Regions from separate parts of the Homo sapiens genome. Here all the other regions are linked to region 3. Evidence: promoter capture Hi-C in 16 types of primary human blood cells and fetal thymus (Javierre and others, 2016). All regions are on one chromosome and are shown on one strand. The core of a region is centred on a gene start or on the middle of the fragment in contact, and the rest is flanking DNA. Distances in the headings are between cores, read along the strand shown. Region 1 overlaps TMEM163 (transmembrane protein 163). Region 2 overlaps CCNT2-AS1 (CCNT2 antisense RNA 1). Region 3 holds the start of TMEM163 (transmembrane protein 163). Region 4 overlaps TMEM163 (transmembrane protein 163). Region 5 overlaps TMEM163 (transmembrane protein 163).

Region 1 (4,590 bases), core at 1,272-3,771, 250 kb after region 3:
AATGATTAGTGCTTGTTTTTTGTCATAGGAAATATTTTGCCTAACCCAAGGTCATACATAATTTAGTTTTACAGTTTTAGCTTCACTTTGAGATCTGCAGTCCATCTAAAATTAAAATTTATATATAGTGTGAAATAAGGATCAGGATTTATTTCTTTCTGTACACATATCCAATTGTTCTAGTGCTGTTAGTTGTAAAGACTTTACATTTTCCACTGGATTGCTTTTGTGCTTTTGTCTAAAACTAAATGACTATATCTGAGAGTGGGATGATTTCTAGGCTATTTTGTTCTGTTGATCTGTATGTCTGTCTGGCTTTATGACAGTATTACTTCTTGATTACAATAGCTTCATAATAAATCAGTTTGGAAATGACTTATTTCATAAATCAAATAAGGAAAGGCCTTGTGTAAACCTTTGAAACTTGTTCTTTTTCAAAATCACTTTACTTATTGTAAGCCCTTTCATTTACACATAACTTTTAAAATCAACTTGTCCATTTTTATTTCTTTAAAAAAGCCTGCTGGGATTTGGCTTAGGGTGGCTTTTGCATCCAGATCGGTTTGGGGAGAACTAACGTTTTAATAATAATTGAACACAGTATATCTTTCCATGTACTAAAATCTTTTAATTTATCTCCGTAATATTTTGTAGTTTTCAGTGCACAGGTCTTACATGTAAAATTTATCACTGAGTATTTAGTATTTTTGTGCTACTTTAAATAGTATTTCCAAAAACTCCATATTTCTAGCTAGTGTACAGAAATACAGTTGAGTTTTACTTGCTAACTTGGTATGTGGTCTTATTAAACTCACTTATAGTTCTAATAAGTATGTTTTGTGTGTGGGAGGAATGGTAAATTAGTGAGGGTTTTCAAAATAGAAAATTATGTAGTCTGTAAATAAAAATGGCTTTACTTCTTTCTTTTCTATCTGTATACTGGCTATTCCCTCCTAATCAGAGTCAAATGGAAGTAATGAAAGTAGATGTCCTTGCCTTTTTCCTGATCTTAGGAGTAACATTCATTTTTTCACCGTTGGTTGATATTAGTTGTAGGTTTTTCCTAGATACCATTTATCAGGTTGAGGAAATTCCTTTCCATTCCTAGAGTGCTGAGAAGTCTTTGGCTTCCTCTGTTTCTCCTTCCCTTCTCCATGAGTGGGTAGTGACACATTTGACACATCAAATGCTTTTTCTGCATCTATTGAGATGATTATATGGGCTTTCTTTTTGTTCTGTCAATATGGGAAATTGCTTTGATTGATATTTGAATGTTTAATCAATATTGGTTCCCCAGGATAAACCCCGTTTGGTCATGTTGTATTATCCTTTTTATATATTGCTGAATTTGTGTTGCTGATACTTTGTTGAGGACTTTTAAGTCTGATTCATGAGAGCTATTGGTCTGTAGTTTTCTTGTGATGCTTCTGCTTTTAGTGTCATGGTAATGCTGGCCTCAGAAATAAATTGGGAAGTGTTTCTTCTTTATCTTTTTTTTTCTGAAAGAGATGTTTTAGAATTGGTTATTTCTCCTTTAAATGATTAAATGTTTGGCAGATTTGCCAGTAAAAGCATTGGGGCCTGAAGTTTTGTGAGAAGGATTTTCACTACAGTTTCAAGGTCTTCGGTTGATACAGGGTTCTTCAGGTTATCTACTTCTTGGATGACGTTTGATTTGTCTATTTCTTCTAAGTTGTCAAATTTATTGGCATCAAGTTGGTTATATCTCCTTGTTATCTTCTTAATAGATCCTGTTGGATCTGTAGTGATGTACCTTCTCTCATTCCTGATATTGGTAACATGTGTCCTCTTTCTTCTAGATGAGTCCTGGAGGTTTATCCTACATTACTGATCTTTATCAAGGTCTTTGGTTTTATTGATTCTTCTCTACTGTTTATTCATTTTCTGTCTCATTGGTTTCTTTTTCTTTTTTTTTTTTTTGAGACAGAGTTTCACTCTTGTTGCACAGGCTAGAGTGCAATGGTGTGATCTTGGGTCACTGCAACCTCTGCCTCCCTGGTTCAAGTGATTCTCCTGCCTCAGCCTCTCATGTAGCTGGGATTACAGGTGTGAGGCACCACACCCAGCTAATTTTGTATTTTTAGTAGAGACAGGGTTTCCCCATGTTGGTCAGGCTGGTCTCGAACTCCTGACCTCAAGTGATCCACCTGCCTCGGACTCCCAAAGTCCTGGGATTACAGTTGTGAGCCACCGCACCTGGTCTGTCTCATTGATTTCTGCTCATAAGTTTATTATTTCTTTCCTTCTCCTTACTTTGGGATTAATTTGATTTTCTTTTAATTTTTTCTTAAAGGCAAAGCTCAGATCATTGATATTAGGCCTTTTAAACATTTTTAAGTACATTATTTACTATAAATTTTCCTCTTAGCTCTGCTTTTGCTGCATACCACTAATTTCAGTATACTGTTGTTCTACTTTATTTCACTTCAAAATATATTGTAATTTCCCTGGTGACTTATTCTTTGATTCATGAGTTTTTAAGAAGTGGGTTGTTTTATTGTTTAGTTTCCAAATACTAGAATATTCTAGATATCATCCTGTTACTGATTTCTAGTTTAATCCCATTGTCAGAGAATATGCCTTGTATAATTCAGTTTTTTAATTGGTTGACATCTTTTTAATGGCATAGAATGTGATCTACATTAATATTACATTTAAAAAGAATGTGTGTCCTGCCTTTGTAGGGTAGATGTTCCGTAAATGTCAGGCAAAGCTGGTTGATCATGTTGTTGAAGTCTTCTGTTTACTGACTTTCTGTTAGTTTGTTCTATCAGTTATGTAAAAGTGTTTTCATTGCTGTAATGAATGGCCCATATGTGCCGTCATTTGCATACATGTACAGGTATAGCAGTAAGATAAATTCACATAAGTGGGTGGCTTGCTCAAAGGGTAGATGTGTACTTTTCAGAGAAATTGTCAAATTGTTCTCTGTACAGGTTGGACCATTTTGCACTGCCACCAGAATTGTATGAGAGACTGTTTTCTCATAGCCTTGTAATATTTTTGGTTAGATAAAAAGGATCTTACTATAGTTTTGGCTTTCATTTCTTTTATGAGCATTTGAGCCTTTTTCATATGTTTAAAATTTATGTTATTTTTAACTGTCTCTCACATATATCTTTGTCCATTTTCTCTTTGTTGGTCTTTTTCCTCTAGATTTCCATGAGCCCTTTCTATAGTAAGGAGATTAACCCTTTGTGATAACCCTTTTCCTAGTTTGTATTTGATCTTTCCCCTGAATATGTCTTAACTTCTCTCTAGTCAAGTATATCAATCTTTTATGGCTTTGCTACTACAAGATGTTGAAGGAGCTTGCCAGCATGGACAAAATTTATGTGGAGTTTACCTTTAATGTACATTTATACTTGGCTTTGAATGAGTGGCTAATTTCCTTAAACCTTTTTGTCATAATCTTCCATCAATCAGTGAAGATTCAACTGTGAGAAATTATAGAGACACAGTGCTGGTAACAGCAGGAACTGAATGCCCAGCAAGGAAATCGCTGTTGCTGTTTTCACGGAGTCCACTGTTGAGGGACATGAGAGATGATGATAAGGCCTTAGATGAGGCAACCTGGTAGAGTTTACAGCTGGGAACAATTCCAGGTCCTGCCACTGCAGAGTGACCCTGGGAAAGTCATTTAGCCTCTCTCCAACTGTTTATGCATCTGTCAGACGCCCACTCTGACAGTGCTGAGAATTCAGTGGCATGGTAGGTGCGGCCGCACCTTGAGAGGAGTCAGTGGTGGAACAGCCTACACGTGTTATGGTTTCTCATCATCAGCCATGTCTCCATGTCTGCTGTGGCTTCCTGACTCTCTGAAAGGAATCTTCTCAGAAACTTCCTTTTATTAAACTTAGAGACTGTCTTAGCTTGGGGTGCCAAAGACAAATGTCGTAGACTAGGTGGCTTAAAAAACAGGAATTTCATCTTCACAGTTCTGGAGACTGAAGTCCACAATGAATGTGCCAGCAGAGTCAGCATCTGGTGAGGGATCCTTCCTTGGGTTACAGATGGCTGCCTTCTCACTGTGTCCTCATGTGTCCTCATGTGGCCTTTCCTTGGTGCACGTCGGTGGTGGGGAAAAAGATCTTCTGTTTTCTTATAAGGGTACTAGTCTCATTATGAGGTCCCCCTATGACCTAATCTAACCCTAATTATCTTTCAAAGGCCCCCTCTCCAAATACTATCACATTGGGGTTAGGGCTTCAACATATGAATTTTGTAGGAACACAGACATCTAGTCCATAACAGGGACTGATGTCTTTTTAAACATAGTTTTATTAGGTAGAGTCTCACTCTATTGCCCAGGCTGGAGTGCAGTGGCACTATTATAGCTCACTGCAGTCTCAACCTCCTGGCCTCAAGTGATCCACTTGCTTCAGCCTCCTGAGTAGCTGGGGCTACAAGCATGTGCCACTATGCCTGGCTAATATTTACATTTTTTGTAGAGACCAGGTCTCGCTATGTTGCCCAGGCTGGTGTTGAACTCTTGGCTTCAAGTGTTCTTCCCGCCTCGGCCTCTCAAAGCACTGGGATTCCAGGCATGAGCCACCATGCCCAGCCAGG
Region 2 (4,130 bases), core at 1,415-3,914, 190 kb before region 3:
ATCCTTTATAATAAGCTTTCTACATACTATGTGCCTTTCCTTCTTAGCTCCTGTTGTGGTAGCAATTTTCTATTGATTTGTTGCTTACTTGATACATGTCTCCCTAACTAGATTATAAGCACAACTGAGGGCAGGAACCATGATTGCTTTTTTCATACTCTCAGAATCTAGCATGGTTCTTGGCCCATCATAAGTCCTGAATAAATTTTGTTGAATGCATGAGTGAATGAAGACTTAGGTCATCCCTCAAGAAAGTCCAGTCTAGAAGGCAGATAGGAATCACAACTCAAAATGAGAGGTGTGCTCTGTTAGAGATAGCAGTACATTTTTTTTTTTGTTTTCGGTTTTTTGAAGGGGGAGTTACTGAGCGATGAAATCCCAAAGCCTAGAAACCAGCACTTTAGGTCCTGAGGAATTTTAACAGAGAAAGTAATATAATCAAATACATACTTTGGACATTTTTATCTGGCACCAAGGTAGAAGATGGGTTGTACCAGACTAAGCCAAGGGGCAGGGGTACAAATAAGGGATTATTTCAATATCCTGCTGAGAGATGAAGACCTGAATTTAGTTGGAAGCCATATGGAGGAAAGAACAGATAAGAAATAAAAGATATAAAATGAGTTGAATCTTTTGGATTTAATGGTGTATTGATACGGGTGAAGGAGAAGGATTAGGTGACTGGGTGATGCCATTCATCAGGTTGGGACTGTAAGAAGTGGAATTAAATTTTGGGATAAAGGGATTGAGTTATATCTGAGGCATATGGTTCTATTGAATACCGTAGTATTGTAGCTTTGATTTTGTGTGTGTGTGTGTATGCCTAATGCTGTTAGGACTTCTTGAAACATTGTCTGCTCTTGACTCCTGAGTATATTTTCCTGGTTTTCCTCCTACCTCACTGGCTACTCTTCTGTGCACAAAGCTGGTGCCTTCATCTAACTTTTTTTTTTTTTTTTTTGAGACAGAGTCTCGCTCTGTCACCCAGGCTGGAGTGCAGTGGCACGATCTCGGCTCACTGCAACCTCCGCCTCACGGGTTCAAGTGATTCTCCTGCCTCAGCTTCCCGATTAGCTGGGATTACAGGCACGTGCCACCATGCCCGGGCTAATTTTTGTATAGCCTTCATCTAACTTCTAAGTGTTAGTGAATCCCAGGAAATAGGCCTAGGGTCTTTTGCGTCTCTACTCTACTTTTTCACCAGGTGATTTCATCCAGTCTCATTTCTTTAAATACCTTTTATACACTGGTGATTTTTCCCTAGCCTCTCTCTTGAACTCTCCAGACTAGAACACTCAAGTGCTTACTTGACATTCCTACTTAAATGTCTAAGAGGCATCTGAAATATAACAAGTCCAACTACAGAACTGTTGATTCTCTTTCCTCTCAAGACTGTTTCTCCCATAGTCTTCCTCATTATGGTATATGGTAATAAATCTACCCAGCTGTTCAAGTGAAAAGCCTGGGAATCAAAGCACCTATGTTTAAAGTATGGATGCATTTAACACCATTAACTACTATTAATCATCTCAAACCTTAAATGTCACCAGGAGTATGTGCCCAGGAAAGTCCTAGTTAGAAAACCCTCTTTACACCCAGATTAAAGAGGAATTCTCGCATCTTTTCTTCTAGTACCTGCATAGTTTAATATTTTAGAGTTAAATCTTTGATCCAATCAGAGTTGTAGTTTATCCATATGTATGATTTGGGAAATGAATCAAATTTTATTGCAGTATTATTTATAATTACAAAACATTAGGAATTATTTAAATGTCCAAATATAGGAGACTGATTGACAAAAGCATGGTGTGCACATGTGTACACACACTTCACATTCACATGCCCAGGAGTCAGCCTTGATTTCTTTCCTCCCCTTCCTCCCTCTTCCTCACATTTAGTCCATCATTAAATGCTGTTGGTTCTGCCTACAAACATATCTCATGATCCCCATTCTTGTATTTATGCCTGAGTCACCATCATTTCTTGCCTAGCCTCCAACTTCCTTTCTTGACTCCCTTTAATAGGTCTCTACAAAGCTGTTAATGTATATGGGTTTCTTTTTTCTTTTTTTCCTCCTCTCCTCTCCTCTCTTTTTTCTGAGACAGGGTCTCACTCTGTCACCCAGGCTGGAGTGCAGTGGCATGATCCTAGCTCACTGCAGCCTCGAACTCCTGGGCTTAAGCCATCCTCCCATCCCAGCCTCCTGAGTAGCTGAGATTATAGGAATGAGCCACCACACCCAGCTAATTAAAAAAAAATTTTTTTTTGTAGAGATTGCTGTGTTGCCCAGGCTGGTCTCAGTCTCCTGGCTTCAAGTGATCCTCCTGCCTCAGCCTCTCAAAGTGTTGGGATTACTGTTGCAAGCCACTGCACCCTTCTATTTTTTGTTTGTTTGTTTTAAAAGAATAACATAAGTCCGAGCATGTCACAGACCTATTAAAAAGTCTCCAGTGGTTTCCTATGAAACAAGATAAAAATCTTGGGCAGGCGTGGTGGCTCATGCCTGTAATCCCAGCACTTTGAGAGGCTGAGGCGGGAGGATCACGAGGTCAGGAGATTGAGACCATCCTGGCCAACAGGGTGAAACCCCGACTCTATTAAAAAAAAAAATTAGCTGGACCTGGTGGCGCGTGCCTGTAATCCTAGCTACTCAGGAGGCTGAGGCAGAAGAATCACTTGAACCAGGGAGTCAGAGGTTGCAGTGAGCCGAGATTGCGCCACTGCATTCCAGCCTGGCGACAGGGTAAGATTCTGTCTCAAAAAAAAAAATTATCTGGACCTGGTGGCACGTGCCTGTAATCCTAGCTACTCAGGAGGCTGAGGCAGGAGAATCACTTGAACCAGGGAGTCGGAGGTTGCAGTGAGCCGAGATCGCGCCACTGCATTCCAGCCTGGTGACGGTACGATTCTGCCTCAAACAACAACAACAACAACAACAACAACAACAACAAAAACTCAACCCTTGACCATGATCTACTGATCTAGCCAACTTTTTGGCTTCCTCTCCTGTCTCCCTTCCTTGCTCACAAACTTGTCACGAGGTTTCTTGCCTCAGAACCTTTGCATTTTCTTCACTGTTCTATCATTCAAATCTCAGTTGAAAGTCCTCTTTAAAGAGGCCTTCTCTGACTCTACAATTTAACGTTTTACCCCCCCATCTTTCTCCTAGTCACTACCACATTTTCGTTTTAATTTCTTCATAGTGTTTATCAGTATAAGAAAAATTTCCTTCCTTCTTTCCTCCTTCTGTTCCTCCTTTTATTCCTCTTTTTCTTCTTCCTTACCTTATTTATGTTTCTCACTCTTCAGATTGTAGGTTTTGTCAGAAAAGGAATTTTATCTTTTTTGTTTACATCTATACCCCCAGTGCCTGGAGCATTCCTATAGTCCTGGCACATAGAAAACATGTGAATATGAATATATCCATTCACTCTGCATGTGTATGTGTGTGTATGATATTGAATAAAGTGATTGGGTTACTTTTTATAATAAAACAATCATTAAATGCTGTATTCAGAGTGCTCAAATATAGAATATTTGAAAAGGTATGGACTTTATCCCCAAAGATTGGGGAAGGAAAAAATAACATATGGTTCATGTTGTTGCTTTGTTCAACTTTGTTTTCCTTTTTGGGCAGATTGGAGCAATAAGCAGATGGTGGGTGAGTAAAATCCTAGAAAGAAATGGTGGGGGGTGGGGTGAGAAGGAGGTGGGGCAATGAACTATATAAAGTGAAAATAATGGCGTGAGCATAGTGAAGTAAGAATTAGATCTCATCTTTATTCTGGAGAGGGGTCAGCACAAATTACATGTCAATACTCAACTCTTGATTTTCTAGATGAATGGAAGGGAAAATAATGAATGAATCCATGCTTGATTTTGGAATTCAGCCAGAGGCAGATGAACCATAGATTTCATCACCCATCCCAGGACCAAGTTCCTTTTCAGCAGCCCAAGTGGGACCATAAATGAAATGGGTAAAACAAGGCTACCCTGGTATTGCCCTATTAACTTTCCACAGTTAGCTTCATACATTCTGCTCGGTATTTTAAAATCAAAAGAGCTTCTGGTAGGAGTAAATTTATAGACAAAAACTTTTAAAATGGATGTCTCATTCAGTCTGAAACCAC
Region 3 (4,611 bases), core at 179-2,678:
CCTTCAGAAATGAAGATGCAAAGACTCAGGGAAAACTGCCTGTTTTTATGCTTAGATTCAGTGAAGAATGGACAGCCTTATAGAAATGTGATTGGACAAAGGGTGTGATCTAATGGTAATAGACTGAGGGTTGAACCCAGCGAGGCCTGTTCAGATTCTTCTTGGCCTCTCTGTGCAGCATGTATAGAGCAGGACCTCTTCTGGAATGAGGGTCTCAGGATCTACTATCAGACAAGGTAGGTCTGAGTATTTCTTCATGGCCAGCTCCTACACAGAAAGGCAGAGGACCAGGGAGGTTGGAGTACTATTTCTAGGTTGTATGACCACCGTAGGGAAGAGGAATTCTGGTTTCTGTGAACTGCTTAGTGGGGAGAAAGTCGGGGGGGAGACAGACTTTGTTTCTAAGGCGGCTTCAGAGGCCTGTTTAGTTTTTTAGTTCAAACTTAGCATACCAAAGTGCCATACGTTGGGGTATACTTTTCTGAGCCTCAACAAATCCAAGCTGAATTTATTAAACAGCAGGTCCTCTTTTGCTCCTCTCTGGGCATCAAGAGAGCTGGCGTGTGCCCTGCGGTGGACTCTCACTGGTGAGATCAGCCCCACCGCACAAAATGAATTAAGAGCTGCAGGGGTCAGAGTAGGGGAGACTTCTCGTAGAAGGGAGGCTTCCATGGATTTCTGAAGATCACACAAGACTTAGATGAGCAGGGGAGCGAACTGTATGGGACAAAGGCCCAGGAAGAGTCGAAATGGGGAAGCCTCGGAGTTCAAGCATCTTCTATAGCGCCCGCTGTCCTAAAGATACCCCATCCCTGGCTAAATGGGTGCTCCAGGGAGAAACTGGGAGGGGAGTTAAAGCTCCGAGAAGGACGGAGAGCGACGGGCTTGGGGACAGATGAACCCTTTTTCCCTGGATGAGCAGTGAGAATGGAGGCCCAGGCGAAGACCCTGTACAGCCTCTGAAGCCTGTGCAGCTCCAGAAGAGAAAGATGCCAAATTAGGGGCGCTGTCTGCTACCCACGCGCGGCCGCGGGCTTCGCGGACCCCAGAGGAATCCAGTGGGAGGGGTCCCCTCTGGGCACCATCCCGCGGCGCAGGTGGGGCGGGTCCCCGCTACGCCCTAGCCAAGCTCTGCCAGGGCCGCCTGTGGGTCCTCACGCTGGTTCCTCCCTCTCGTCCGCCTCGGTGCGCCGGCTCCCGCGCCCGGGCCTTGGGGCGGGTCCCTGCCGCCCGCACCTGCCCCCAGGGGCGGAGCGCGGCGGCAACAACGCGGCCCCAGCCTCCGCCACCGGCCGCGGAGCCGAGCGGCTCTCCGCTCGTCCCCGCCCCCGCCCGTGCACCTCCACTCCGCGGCGCCCGCCCGCCCTCCCTCCCTGTCCACGCGGCCAGTCCGTCCGCTCCTGCCCCCGCCAGAGCCGCGGCGCCTCGCACTTCTGACTCGAGTCCCCGCCGCGCTTGTCGTCGCCGCCGCCGGGATCCGCAGCCCCGCGCCATGGAGCCGGCCGCGGGCATCCAGCGCCGCAGCTCCCAGGGGCCCACCGTCCCGCCGCCGCCCCGGGGCCACGCGCCACCGGCTGCCGCCCCCGGCCCGGCCCCGCTGAGCTCCCCGGTGCGCGAGCCGCCCCAGCTGGAGGAGGAGCGGCAGGTGCGGATCAGCGAGAGCGGCCAGTTCAGCGACGGGCTGGAGGACCGAGGTGAGCGCGAGCTGCCCGACCCGGCCGGCGACCGGGGTGGCTGCTCGGGGCCCGCCTCTCCCCACTCGCGGGCCGCGCTGGGCGAGGCGCGGGGCTCGGAGCGCGCGGGGGCGCGGAGCCCCGACTTCCCGGCGAGAACGCCGCTAGCCGAGAGCGGCAGCCCCACCTTCTGCGGCCGGCACCGCCTCGGCTGCGGTTCCTTCCCTCGAAGCCCAGACCCCAGCTGCCTTCAGGCCGACCCCGCCTGGACTCGCGCCCTCCTCTCCGCCAGCTCCAGGCCCTCCGGCGCCCACGGGAAAAGTTTGCGGGAGGCATTTTTTGCGTTCGGAGTCGAGCGCTTCTGGGCCACTCCGGGCCCTACTCAGCTCGGAGGGACCCAGGCTCGTTGCATCCTCCTTTCCGTAGTCCCCTGCGGCTCCGCCGGCTGCCTGGGAGAACTTCCCTCTGCGGGTGTAGCCGCGAGATGTCCCTCGGCGGCCGCCCGGCTGCCCGCCCCGGCGAAGGGCGCAAGGAGGGGAGCGAGCCGGGACTCGGGCGGCCTCTGGTCTCGGGCAGTCCCCGATTCTAATCGCGGACGCGGGTCACAGTGGGTCCCTGCCCCGTCGTCTCATGATGGGGCAGAGGAATGGGACATTTGGATTTGGGCCACCAACCTCATCTGGATGGATGCCACTGAAACCTGATGTTTCCGGAGGGCGCGTCTGCAGACCCTTCAGAGCTCCCCTCCACTGACACTGGCCTGGAGGTCAGCACACTTGCCTCTGCTGGGAGACCACACTCTGCCTCCCACCGACTGCCGATGCCCCCTTGAGTCGCCAGTGTAGGACGGGAGAGACTCCCTGCTCGTTCCCGCGTCTCTCTTCTCCATCCCTTCCGCGTTTCCTTTGGGCTTGGATTCTTTGCAGAGGGAGCCCTGTTCTTGGCCGCGTCTGCACCTTTTCTACTTCTTGCTGAATCCGAATCCAAATTGTCCCCCTCAGAACGAATCTGTGGTTCTGCTAAAACCGTTTAGTGGCCAAAGAGGGATTCTTGCAGCCAGGCCCTTTAGGGGAAGCCGGCTCTTTTGCACCTCCACCCCCTTTTCTTGGAAGCCTTATTTTGTTGGCTATGGCGGGTTTATATATTTTAGACTTAGCAGGTTTCTGTCCTATTCTTAGTATCTCCTGTACATTTTTATTCCGGTTTAGTGTTCGGATGCACGATCTCTTTCTCCTTAGAAATTCTAAACTGTAGCATGTGAAATAAAATGACATGGAAACGGCAGTTCCCAGAGAATCCGCCTAGATGCTCAGCGAGAACTGGAGCTGCTCCAGTGGCAACGAATTCTGCACCTCTGTTGCAGTTTCTCCCCCTGTTCTCACATAACTAGATGCCATTTAAGAGGTGAGGACAGGGGACATCACGAGCATGGAACAAAACCTCTCACTTTTATTATAGGATGTGTTCATTACCTTTGCCCCTCTCCAGCTAATATCGTAGGATTTAAAAATTCCATATTGAAGAAAGACAGAAGCCTGGGTTGAGCTTATTTTTGTAGCATTGCAGGTCATCTCTAAGAGCTGGCCTGTTTCTCCCTACCCCACAAAATGATAGGAGGGAAGACAGTGCTAGGGTGAGTTCATATTTAGCATCATTTTGTAGTTCATGTTCAAGTGTAAAAAGCCCTTCTGAATTCATTCTTAAGGTTATTTTTCTCTGGTCAACGGAATTTCATTTTCCATTATATGATAGCATGAAAGCATTGACTGTTCGTAAACTGTCACTGTTTGAGAGCGTGGCATATCACACACAGCCTCTCTGTTAGGATGAACCCTATTCGCCAAAGAACCCGGTGCTGTGTGGCATTGAGAGCTGAACGTCAATGTGACATTCTTTTGTTTGACCTCTTCCTGATGGCAACCAGTATGTGGTGAATAAGTGATTTTTGTTAAGTAAACGAGAACGTTACCTGGGGAGGTTTACTGTAAGATTTTGTGTTTGTTGTTTCTGTTATTTTTTTTCTTATGGGGCTGCATTTTTCCAATATTGATTTTTATATCCTTTGGGAATGGGTTGAGTGCAGCTACCTCTTTCCTGCTGGTGAGAGGAATTGGGGAGGAGGAAGCCCCAGCACTTGCCTGCCGTGTGTCTCTGCATCCTGCCTGGCTTGCTTTCTTTCAGGCCTAAATACCTATAGGCTGTCTGTAGAGGGGTTGAGGGGTACCTCGGATCTGCACCTGTATTTGGCATTCTCTTTTGTCCTAACTCCCTTTGGAGCTATCAGGATGTGGTTCCAGACCACAGTTAACTCTCATCAAAGGTTTGCTTTAAAATCTAGTGTTTTGAGACTTTGGAGGCATTTGCGCCTTAGAAATGATGTGGGCTGGTTCTCAGAAACCTAGCTAGCTCAGAATGTCAGTAACTGCAGTGCCATCTGGTTGAACTTAAAGCTCAGGGAGCAAGAGCTCTGTGGCCTAAGACCTTTGGGGACTAAACACAAAAATTAGGCCAGGTTTATCTTAATCATTCTTCCCATCCCCTTTGAATACCTATTCTTCTCCCTACAAGTATTTTCCCATCATTCTGTCCGTAACCTTAGGGCCCAGCTTAGCCTTAGGTAATTATATGTGTCAGCATTTCCCAGTACTTCCCCATCTAACAAAATTTCCCTTTCTTCACAGAGTTCAAGCTTGACAAACTTAGGAGAAAGGAATTGGAACTAATGCATACTAGTGTAGAAATAACTGATGGCTTCAGCCTCTCCATATGTATTTGTACCTTTCCCCTCTCCAAAATAAATAAAGGATCAGTCTCTCATTAGTACTATGCTTAGTATTCCCAGGCCAAAATTGCAAATTATGAAATTTGAGTGAGTTTAGAAATTCAAATATGGGGGCCAGCTATGGGTAGGGAGGATCCAGCCCTGCCTGCAAATCCG
Region 4 (4,224 bases), core at 480-2,979, 140 kb after region 3:
TCTCACAACAACCCTCTAAGAGGAAATGGAGGAACAGAGAGATTAAATAACTTGCCTAAAGGTTTTACTAGATGGTTCTATTTGCAGCCATCACTTGAGAATCTATTAGGTCCAGAGTGTGAGGTAGCCAGACTCTGTGCCTGTAGTCCCATAGTCCCAGCTACTCAGGAGGCTGAGGTGGGAGGATCACTTGAGCCCAGGAGTTTGAATCTGGCTTGGACAACACAGTGAGACCCTGTCTCTAAAAAAGAAAAAAGAGGACGAGGTTGCCATCTCTTTCTGTCCCTGTTTCCAGGTGGGGTTGAAATGTGATGGTTAGATTTAATAAAGATCTCTACATGTGACATAGTTATAAGAGAATGAAATGTCTGCAGGCAGAGCTCACAGTTTAGGGGCCTCTCAAGTTCTATATGAAGAATACCCAGGCATCCATGAAGTGTCCTGTCCCTGAAGTGTCTGTGGAGTAGTTGGCAGGTCACTGGTGCTGGGTCTGGAGCTGGGCATTGGACTCTGCTGCTTACCAGCTCTTTGATTCTGGACAAGTCATTGCCTTTGGTGAGCCTCATGTTCCTTAGCTAGAAATGGAAATACTACTCTAAGTTTACATGCTAAGCTTAGTACCTGGCACATTGTGGATACTTTCACATTATAGATAATTTGAATGAACATTTGTGTCTGAATCCGGTAAAAGTTGCCACCCAGACTCTCTGGCCACCCAGACTCTCTTATTTCTTTAGCAAGAGTCTCGAGTCTTTATCACATGCCTTTGTACTTTTTTTTTTTTTTTTTTACTAGAAATTTCAGAGAGGTCTTCTAAAATGCAATGGTCAAGAAACTTACGTTTCTGGGTACTTTATCTTCCAAACAAACATTGAGGATTGTGCCTTGCCTGGAACTTAGTTAATGGGGAGGGGTTTTTCACCTGTGATTTTTCACATGGGTGACCATAGAGCAGGCATATAGGCCACCTGGCTATCCTACATAATGATCTCTGGACATTCATTCCATGACCTCTGCCTTGTAGGATCTTAGTGCACACATGCTTTTGTGGATGTTGCTTCAGACACCATGGCTGGGCAGTGAGTCTGTGGTTTTTGCTAGAGGCTGCTGCCCTTCCCTGATGCAGCCGTCTCTTGGCAGCGTGATCTGTTTATGTTCTTCATTTCAAGGTTTTTCATTGTTCCTTAGTTCTGCTGCTGGCAGCAGTTGAGAAATTATACTTGGATATCAATTAGGGCATCCAAAATATGACTTTATCCTGGAGCAGGGCAAGGAGAGCTTAGTGATGTGCTTGCTTTATCATTTAACCTTTACATCTGCCAAGCAATAGTCTGCATTTCCTGTGCAGAGATTTTGTAGCCCATCTATTCAGCACTACTAGGAGCCAGGTGCTGCTCTAGGCCCTGGAGATGGAGCAGTGAACAAATGGTCAGAAATTCCTGCCTCAGGGAGTGAGAAATAAAATACATATTAGATTGTGAGGGATGCTATGGAGAAAAATGAAGCCAGAAAGGGGATGGAGGAGGACAGGAATAGCAGTTATGCGTTCAATAATGTGGTCAGAAAAAGCCTCCCTGAGAAAGCTACAAAGATGGGAGGGATTGAGGGAGCAGAGAGCAAGCCATGGGCCTGAGAGCAGGGGGCATCTCATAGGGGGCAGGCAGACAGTGTGGCTGGAGCAGATGTAGGGGAGGGGAGGGGACCATGAGGTCACTGGGAGTGATGGTGCGTGAGTGCTAGGCTATGAAAGATCTGTTAGTGGTTTTACAGCATGGCTGACAGTAGCTGCATGGATGTGGTGAACCCCTTTTCCGAGAACTCCATTGCCTTCAGTTTCGTTATTGGCCCTTGAGTTCTTTCTCGATTGTAGATCAAACGGCCTCCCATTTCTAGGGGTCGTGGCCTTCTCCATGGGGTTTGAGTGAGAAGTGTCATGGTGCTGAACTTGGTTTTATTGCTTTTGTTTCTTCGAACTCTAGGAGCCTCTTCTTAGATTGCCGTCTGAAATTTTTATCACTGTAAGTGACAAATACAAAGCGCCCAGAAGGTAATAATGATGCGAACTATTTATTAGAAACTTACATGCCAGTAAGCACTTGCTGTGGGTCTAAATGTGTCCATGTGTCAGCTCTCTTGATACAGAGCAACTCCATTAGGTAGAACTCCCATTTTGTGGGGAAGGAAACCAAGGCACAAAGACATTAAATAAATTGTCCAATTTTATGTGGCTTGCCAGCGTGGGATGAGGATTCAAATCTGGGTAGCTGGATTCCAAAGTTGGTGCTGTGACTGCTGTGCTGAGAGGAGCTTTCTGGTGAAGCTCCACCGTTCTCTGTCCACAGGACTAAGCAGAAATGAAGTTCTTCTCATATTTTTTTAAAATCCAAATAATCATTGCACAGAGATGCCTGTTAAAATAGAGAAATATGTTTTAGTGCCATTTTTATAGGAAGAATGGTCCCAGAGTAGAGATCTCTTAGCATATATGTGGAGTGTGTTCAAGCCAGTGGATTCTTCTCTACTTTTGCAGGTAGAAGGGAATTTAGGCCCCTTGGACCCAGAAGCCATTTTTCTGCCCCCTACCTTTCCTCCTCTCAGGATGGAGGCGACCCCCAGCCCCCACATGAGATATCACCACTTCCTCTTCCTCACCTGCCAGTGACTCACTGTTGCCAAAACTAAAGCATCAGCTTGAGACATGATTATTTTTTTCTTCCTTGTTTCAGAGACAGCACTTATGATGACTGAGTGGCTGTATGCAAGTCATGAGAATCACATGGCAGGACCTAGCACCACCATGCACCAGCTTGGGCTTGGGTTTCTGATTAGTCTGAGTGAAGCTTTGACGTGAATTTTTGTCTTGTCAGACTCCAGTTAACTTCAACAGGGACGGCACTAGGTTCAAGAGTCCAGAGAAGAGACCCAGAGCCAGCAAATGAGATATGGGGTTTTATTTGTGAGAACTTACATGCAGGAACAGTCCAAAGGTGGCAGACTGGACAGGAGAACTGCAACCTCTTGCAAAAAGCGTGCGGTTTGTAGAGCACTTGCACTTAGCAGCGGCCCCCGCATGGCAGCTGTCATTTCTTAAGTTATTGCTATTAGGTGCACCTACCATACTGACCTTCCCCCACCTACAGGAGCTGGGAACATTCCTTATGCTCTTTGGGGGATTTGGGTTGCCTTTTTTGAAGTTGATGAGAAAACAATTTTGCAAAACTTACTCCCCTTCCCAGCCTTTGTCCTCTCTTTTAGTTCCTTTCTAATTAGGCATCTTCCCATAGCACATGGCGATCTTCTTGTCTTCCCTTTTTGACATGACTGTGGTTTCTAGGAAACTGAAAGTTTTAAACTCTTGCATACCTTGTGCTCTCTCATGGTTCTCTGCCGTGTGTGTGAACCCAAGCAGTGCTGGTTGCAGTGCTGTTGATACTTCTATGCGCACTCATGGTGACAAGGAAACCCTTCAGCTTTATGACACCGTTAGGAAGGACAAAGTCTTCAATATGTGTAGCCATATTTTGAACGATGGAATATTTAACATGGAGAATCAGTGGTTCAAGGGCAGGAGGGAGATGGAAGGGTAGTTGCCTTTTTGGTTCTGCTGCTTCTTGTAAAGTTGTGTTCTTTGGTCACTCTGGTATCATTATTGTACATGTGTATATGCATATGCTGACATGGGCAAGGGGAAAGTATGGGGAAACTAAAGGTAGGAGATCCTCCCCTCAAAATGAGCTGACTTGACTTTTGAACTTGTTTTCTCATCAACCTCATAAAATTCATCTCCCCCCCGCCCCCATAAAGAGCATGAAGAATGTTCCCAGCTCCTGTAAGTGGGGGAATTGCTGGTGGTTTGTTTGGGGGAAGGGCAGTGCAGCAATGCAGCCAGAGTGGGGTGGCAGCTGCTATTTTACATTTGGAAGGAAGTGGACCCAGTTCTGGAATGAACATAAATGTTGACATTCAATTTCTCTCACCAAAGTAAAGTGGAGAATTTTAGATATGTTCTGAAAGAGATAAGCATGATGTGTTGCTAAGGCTATTTGCATGTAGACACTTATGAAGAAGATGTGAAAATTGTTTCTGTGTTATGTATATTCTAGTTAATTAAAAAAAAATTAGTTGGCCTTTTAAGGGAAAGGAGCTTGTTGAGTTATTCATCAAGTAGCTACTTTGGGTGATAGAAGCTTGGTTTAAAAAAGAAAAAAAAGGAAGATCAAGGTT
Region 5 (4,231 bases), core at 1,529-4,028, 160 kb after region 3:
CTCTAAGAGGTTTCCCCACTGACACCAAATGAGACATTTGTCCTCATGCCCTCACCAGCACTCAGAATTTGCAAAAAAAATTTTTTTTTTGAGATGGAGTCTCACCCTGCCACCCAGGCTGGAGTGCGGTGGCATGATCTTGGCTTACTGCAAGCTCCACCTCCCTGGTTCAAGCGATTCTCCTGCCTCAGCCTCCCAAGTAGCTGGTACTATAGGCACGTGCTACCACACCTGGCTAATTTTCGTGTTTTTTAGTAGAGACGGGGTTTCACCATATTGGCTGGGCTGGTCTCGAACTCCTGACCTTGTGATCCACCCACCTCAGGCTCCCAAAATGAGATTACAGGCGTGAGCAAAATCCTTTTATATCTGCCATTGTAAAAGGTAGAAATGGGACGGATCTTCATTTTCTTCTCGTTTTTTCAGTTTTGCTACCTTATGTTTATCAGTTATTTTAAATTCCTTTTCTAAAATTGCATGTTCATGTTGCTTTCTTGCCTTATCTTTTAGGCTCTTGGGCTTTTAAAAAATTTAGTGATTTGCAAGTATTCTTTTAAAAATTGAAGTATAATAGACATACAGAAGCATCATTGATGAAAATCCCATAGCTTAATGAAGTTTCACAAAGTGAACATAGCTGTGTAGCCACCACTCACACTCATCTTCCCACCTGAGAAGACCTGTTCATGCCCCGTCTTTGACACCGCTCCCTGCCCTGGAGGTGACCACCAGCCTGAATTCTACCACTGTGGATTTGCTTTGTCTATTTTTGAACTTTATACAAACCAAATCATACATAGATTATCCAATGAGTGCTTTTGTGTTTGCCTTTGCTGAGATGCATACGTGTAGTTGTGATTAGCTGTAATTCATGTATTGTCATTGTTGTATTTCACTGGATGAATATACCACCAGTTTATCCATTTCTACTATTGACCAATGTTTGTGCTGTTTCCAGTTTTGGCAATTAGGAATAACACTGCTGTGAACATTTTGTAAGCATCTTCAAGTATCCATATGTATGTATGGTTTTTTTTTTTTTCTGGAGACAGAGTCTTGCCCTCAGTCGCTCAGGCTGGAGTGCAGTGGCTCAGTCTTGGCTCACTGCAACCTCTGCCTCCCAGGTTGAAGTGATTCTCCTGCCTCAGCCTCCCGAGTAGCTGGGATTACAGGCTCCTGCCACCACGCCTGGCTAATTTTTGTATTTTCAGTAGAGACGAGGTTTCACCATGTTGGCCAGGCTGGTCTCGAACTCCTGACCTCAGGTGATCCACCTGCCTCGGCCTCCCAAAGTGCTGGGAGTACAGGCATGAGCCACTGCACCCAGCCATAAGTATGTATTTCCATTGAGTATATATCTAGGGATGGAATAGCTGGGTCATGGAGTAAGATCACTTTTGTTTTTGTTTTTGTTTTTGAGACAGTCTTGCTCTGTCACCCAGGCTGGAGTGCAGTGTTGTGATCTCAGATCACTACAACCTCTGCCTCCTGGGTTCAATCGATTCGTGTGCCTCAGCCACCTGACTAGCTGGGATTACAGGCACGCGCTACCACACCTGGCTAATTTTTGTACTTTTAGTAGAGATCAGGTTTCACTATGTTGCCCAGGCTGGTCTCAAACTCCTGGCCTCATGTGATCTGCCTGCCTCAGCCTCCCAAAGTGCTAGGATTACAGACATGAACCACCGCACCTGACCTGATCAGCTTTTATAGAGACGGGCAGCCAGTTTTTAAAAGTATTTGTACTGTTTTACACTTCCACCAGCAGTTCAAGAGTTCAGTTGTATTGCATCCTTACTAACGTTTGAAACTGTCAGCTTTTTTACTTTTTAGTCACACTTTGAGTATGTAGTGGCATCTGTGGTTTTAGTTTTATTGTCCCTGGTTACCAATAAGTAGAGTATATTTTCATATGTTTATTGGTCATTTGTGTATCATCTTTCATGAAGCTTGTTAAGTCTTTCACCCATTTTCCTATTGGGTTGATTTCTCTTTCTTAGTGATTTATAAGTCTATATGTTCTGGATATAAGTCCCCTGGTAGTTATGTTTTATAAATATCTTCTCAATAAACTCGATGGCTTGCTGTTTTGCTCTTTGAAGGAGGTCTTTAATGTAGTTCAGTTTACGAGTCCTTTCCCTTATGATGAATGCATTTATGTCTAGTTTAAAAAATCTTTACCTTTCCCCAAGATTATGAAACTCCATGCCAATATTCTATTTCAGACCTCTCCTATGTTAACCTTACACTTTTATATCTACAGCTCATCGACAGTTTTCTCTATATGGAGTAAGGTAGGGTCATAATTCAGTCATTTCATATGGATGTCCAACTGGCCCAGTACCATTTATTGAAAAGAACTTTCTTTCCCCCGTGTATTTTAGGGGTACTTTTGAAATATATAAATCAAGTAACCATATCTGTGTGGGTCTTCTTTTGTTCTGTGGTCTCTTTGTTTATCCTTGTGCTAATATCATTTTATTTACTGTAGCTTTGAAATCTTCGTATCTGGTAGTGACTGTCTTCCAGGTTTTTTTGGTTGTGGTTGTTAACGGTTGTCTTGGCTATTCTCCCTGCCCACCCTGCCACCGCCACTGCTGCCGCAGTGGAGTCTCGCTCTGTCACCCAGGCTGGAGTGTAGTGGCATGATCTCGGCTCACTGCAACCTCCGCCTCCGGGTTCAAGAGATTCTCCTGCCTCAGCCTCCCGAGTAGCTGGGACTACAGACACCCACCACCACGCCTAAGGTTTTTGTATTTTTAGTAGATACAGGGTTTCTCCATGTTGTCAGGTTGGTCTCGAACTCCTGACCTTAGGTGATCCACCTGCCTTGGCCTCCCAAAGTGCTGGGATTACAGGTGTGAGCCACCGTGCCTGGCCTGTCTTGGCTATTCCTGATTCTTTTCACTTTCCACATGAACTCTGGCTTCATCTTATCAATTCTGTCACCACCTGCTAGGATTTTAATTGGCCACAGTGAGGCTTCCAGTCCACAAACATGGTATGTTTCTTCATATATTTAATAGTTGTCTTTAATTTCTCCTAAAATATTTCATTGCTTTTCTAGGTAGAAGTCTTGCATATTTTTTTAGTTTCATTAGTTTTTTCCTAGGTATTTGATAATTTTGTTGTTTTGAATAGAGCCTTTTAAAAATTACATTTCCTTCGTTTGTGGCTAATATAGAAATAACTGGAATTTGTGTATTCACTTAATGTGTGGTGGCCTTGCTGAATTCACTTCTTAATTCTTTCTAGTTCCCCTATTCTGTCTGCCAGTTTGCCAGTGCCTCACTGCTCTAATAATTGTGACTTTGTGGAGAACCAGGCATGCAGGGAGCAGCAGGCAGCTTTAATTTGAGTACTTATTCTCGGGGCACCTGATCTCAGTGATCTACCTTGGGGAACATCTTCCTGCCTTGAATATAAGAGAAGACTGCCTGGCTGGCAGTGGAGCCTTGGCTCCTCTCGTTGATGGAATGGTGGTGTCTGATTCTTGTATCGGTGTCTGTCTGAGCACGCACTCCTTTGGTTCACGCCTTTGCTCTCTAGTGTGTAGAATATCAGGAAAGGGTCCAGGGGTGGATGCTGGAGCTCAGCTCCAAGCTTGCCATTGCATATAAGGGACAATCGTTTGGATTACTGATGACTGTGCCATCTAATTGTGGAAAAGTCTAAGCTCTGCCCAAGATTTGATTGAGACATATTATCAGCTGTCAGCATCTTCTCCTAGCATGGTCTAAATTTTAATGTATTTTGTAGATTCCCTTTATAACTTAGGTTATTGGGGGTTGGCCATTTTCTGGATCTTTGATCATTTTATTCTTTTTCTAGTTTTTTCATGTTTCTTGTTGCTTTGGGTTTTATGGAGCAGGGTGGTGAGGAGAGAGGACAAAAGGGCTGTATTCCACCATGTTTAACTTGTATTCTTTGAGTGATCACGTTAATCTTCAAATGACTTTGATTCAGATCAAATGAGTTGGTGTTTGTTCAGCATAGTTTCTTTAAGCCAAATCTCTGGACCCTTATTCAGTGTATTTTTCTTCTTCATAGTATGTTCTGTTCTTTAAAATGTTTCTTAAGCGACTTTTCAAACCAAAGAGGTTCAATGTGTTTGGAATCAGCAGTGCAGACCAAGGGCCATCTCAGTGGCCTGGCAAGGATGACCTTGGGTGACAATATCCATGCCTTTGCTAGCTCTTCTTGCCCGTAGTGTTAGCTTTTGGTTCTGGTC

Evidence for each region. The method cuts DNA at HindIII sites, captures the fragments that hold promoters and counts their contacts. A CHiCAGO score of 5 or more calls a contact.
Region 1: a contact is called between a fragment that was not itself captured here and the fragment with the promoter of TMEM163 in region 3, in 1 of 17 cell types (megakaryocytes). The highest score is 8.2, in megakaryocytes.
Region 2: a contact is called between a fragment that was not itself captured here and the fragment with the promoter of TMEM163 in region 3, in 2 of 17 cell types (megakaryocytes and M0 macrophages). The highest score is 6.8, in megakaryocytes.
Region 4: a contact is called between a fragment that was not itself captured here and the fragment with the promoter of TMEM163 in region 3, in 4 of 17 cell types (megakaryocytes, naive CD4 T cells, naive CD8 T cells and 1 more). The highest score is 7.7, in megakaryocytes.
Region 5: a fragment that was not itself captured here is called in contact with the fragment with the promoter of TMEM163 in region 3 in 2 of 17 cell types (megakaryocytes and naive CD4 T cells); the score reaches 6.1 in megakaryocytes.

Annotation. Positions count from the first base shown.
Region 1 is chr2:134,470,887-134,475,476 of GRCh38, reverse strand. The region is part of intron 5 of TMEM163 (transmembrane protein 163); the gene reads left to right. Among named protein-coding and RNA genes, the nearest start is that of MGAT5, 220 kb to the right of the region's middle. The HindIII fragment of the contact is 7,682 bases long and covers 1-4,590 here.
Region 2 is chr2:134,902,537-134,906,666 of GRCh38, reverse strand. The region is part of intron 1 of CCNT2-AS1 (CCNT2 antisense RNA 1); the gene reads left to right. Among named protein-coding and RNA genes, the nearest start is that of CCNT2-AS1, 14 kb to the left of the region's middle. The HindIII fragment of the contact is 5,293 bases long and covers 18-4,130 here.
Region 3 is chr2:134,715,817-134,720,427 of GRCh38, reverse strand. TMEM163 (transmembrane protein 163) reads left to right here and starts at 1,428. Exons shown (of 8, transcript NM_030923.5): 1 at 1,428-1,694. The coding sequence starts at 1,493. It overlaps LOC105373629 (a long non-coding RNA gene), which reads right to left and starts at 2,316. Exons shown (of 2, transcript XR_923354.4): 1 at 1,861-2,316. RefSeq lists a silencer at 1,105-1,344. The HindIII fragment of the contact is 5,110 bases long and covers 1-4,364 here.
Region 4 is chr2:134,581,203-134,585,426 of GRCh38, reverse strand. The region is part of intron 2 of TMEM163 (transmembrane protein 163); the gene reads left to right. Among named protein-coding and RNA genes, the nearest start is that of TMEM163, 140 kb to the left of the region's middle. RefSeq lists an enhancer at 1,625-1,674. The HindIII fragment of the contact is 2,227 bases long and covers 616-2,842 here.
Region 5 is chr2:134,562,422-134,566,652 of GRCh38, reverse strand. The region is part of intron 2 of TMEM163 (transmembrane protein 163); the gene reads left to right. Among named protein-coding and RNA genes, the nearest start is that of TMEM163, 150 kb to the left of the region's middle. The HindIII fragment of the contact is 1,654 bases long and covers 1,952-3,605 here.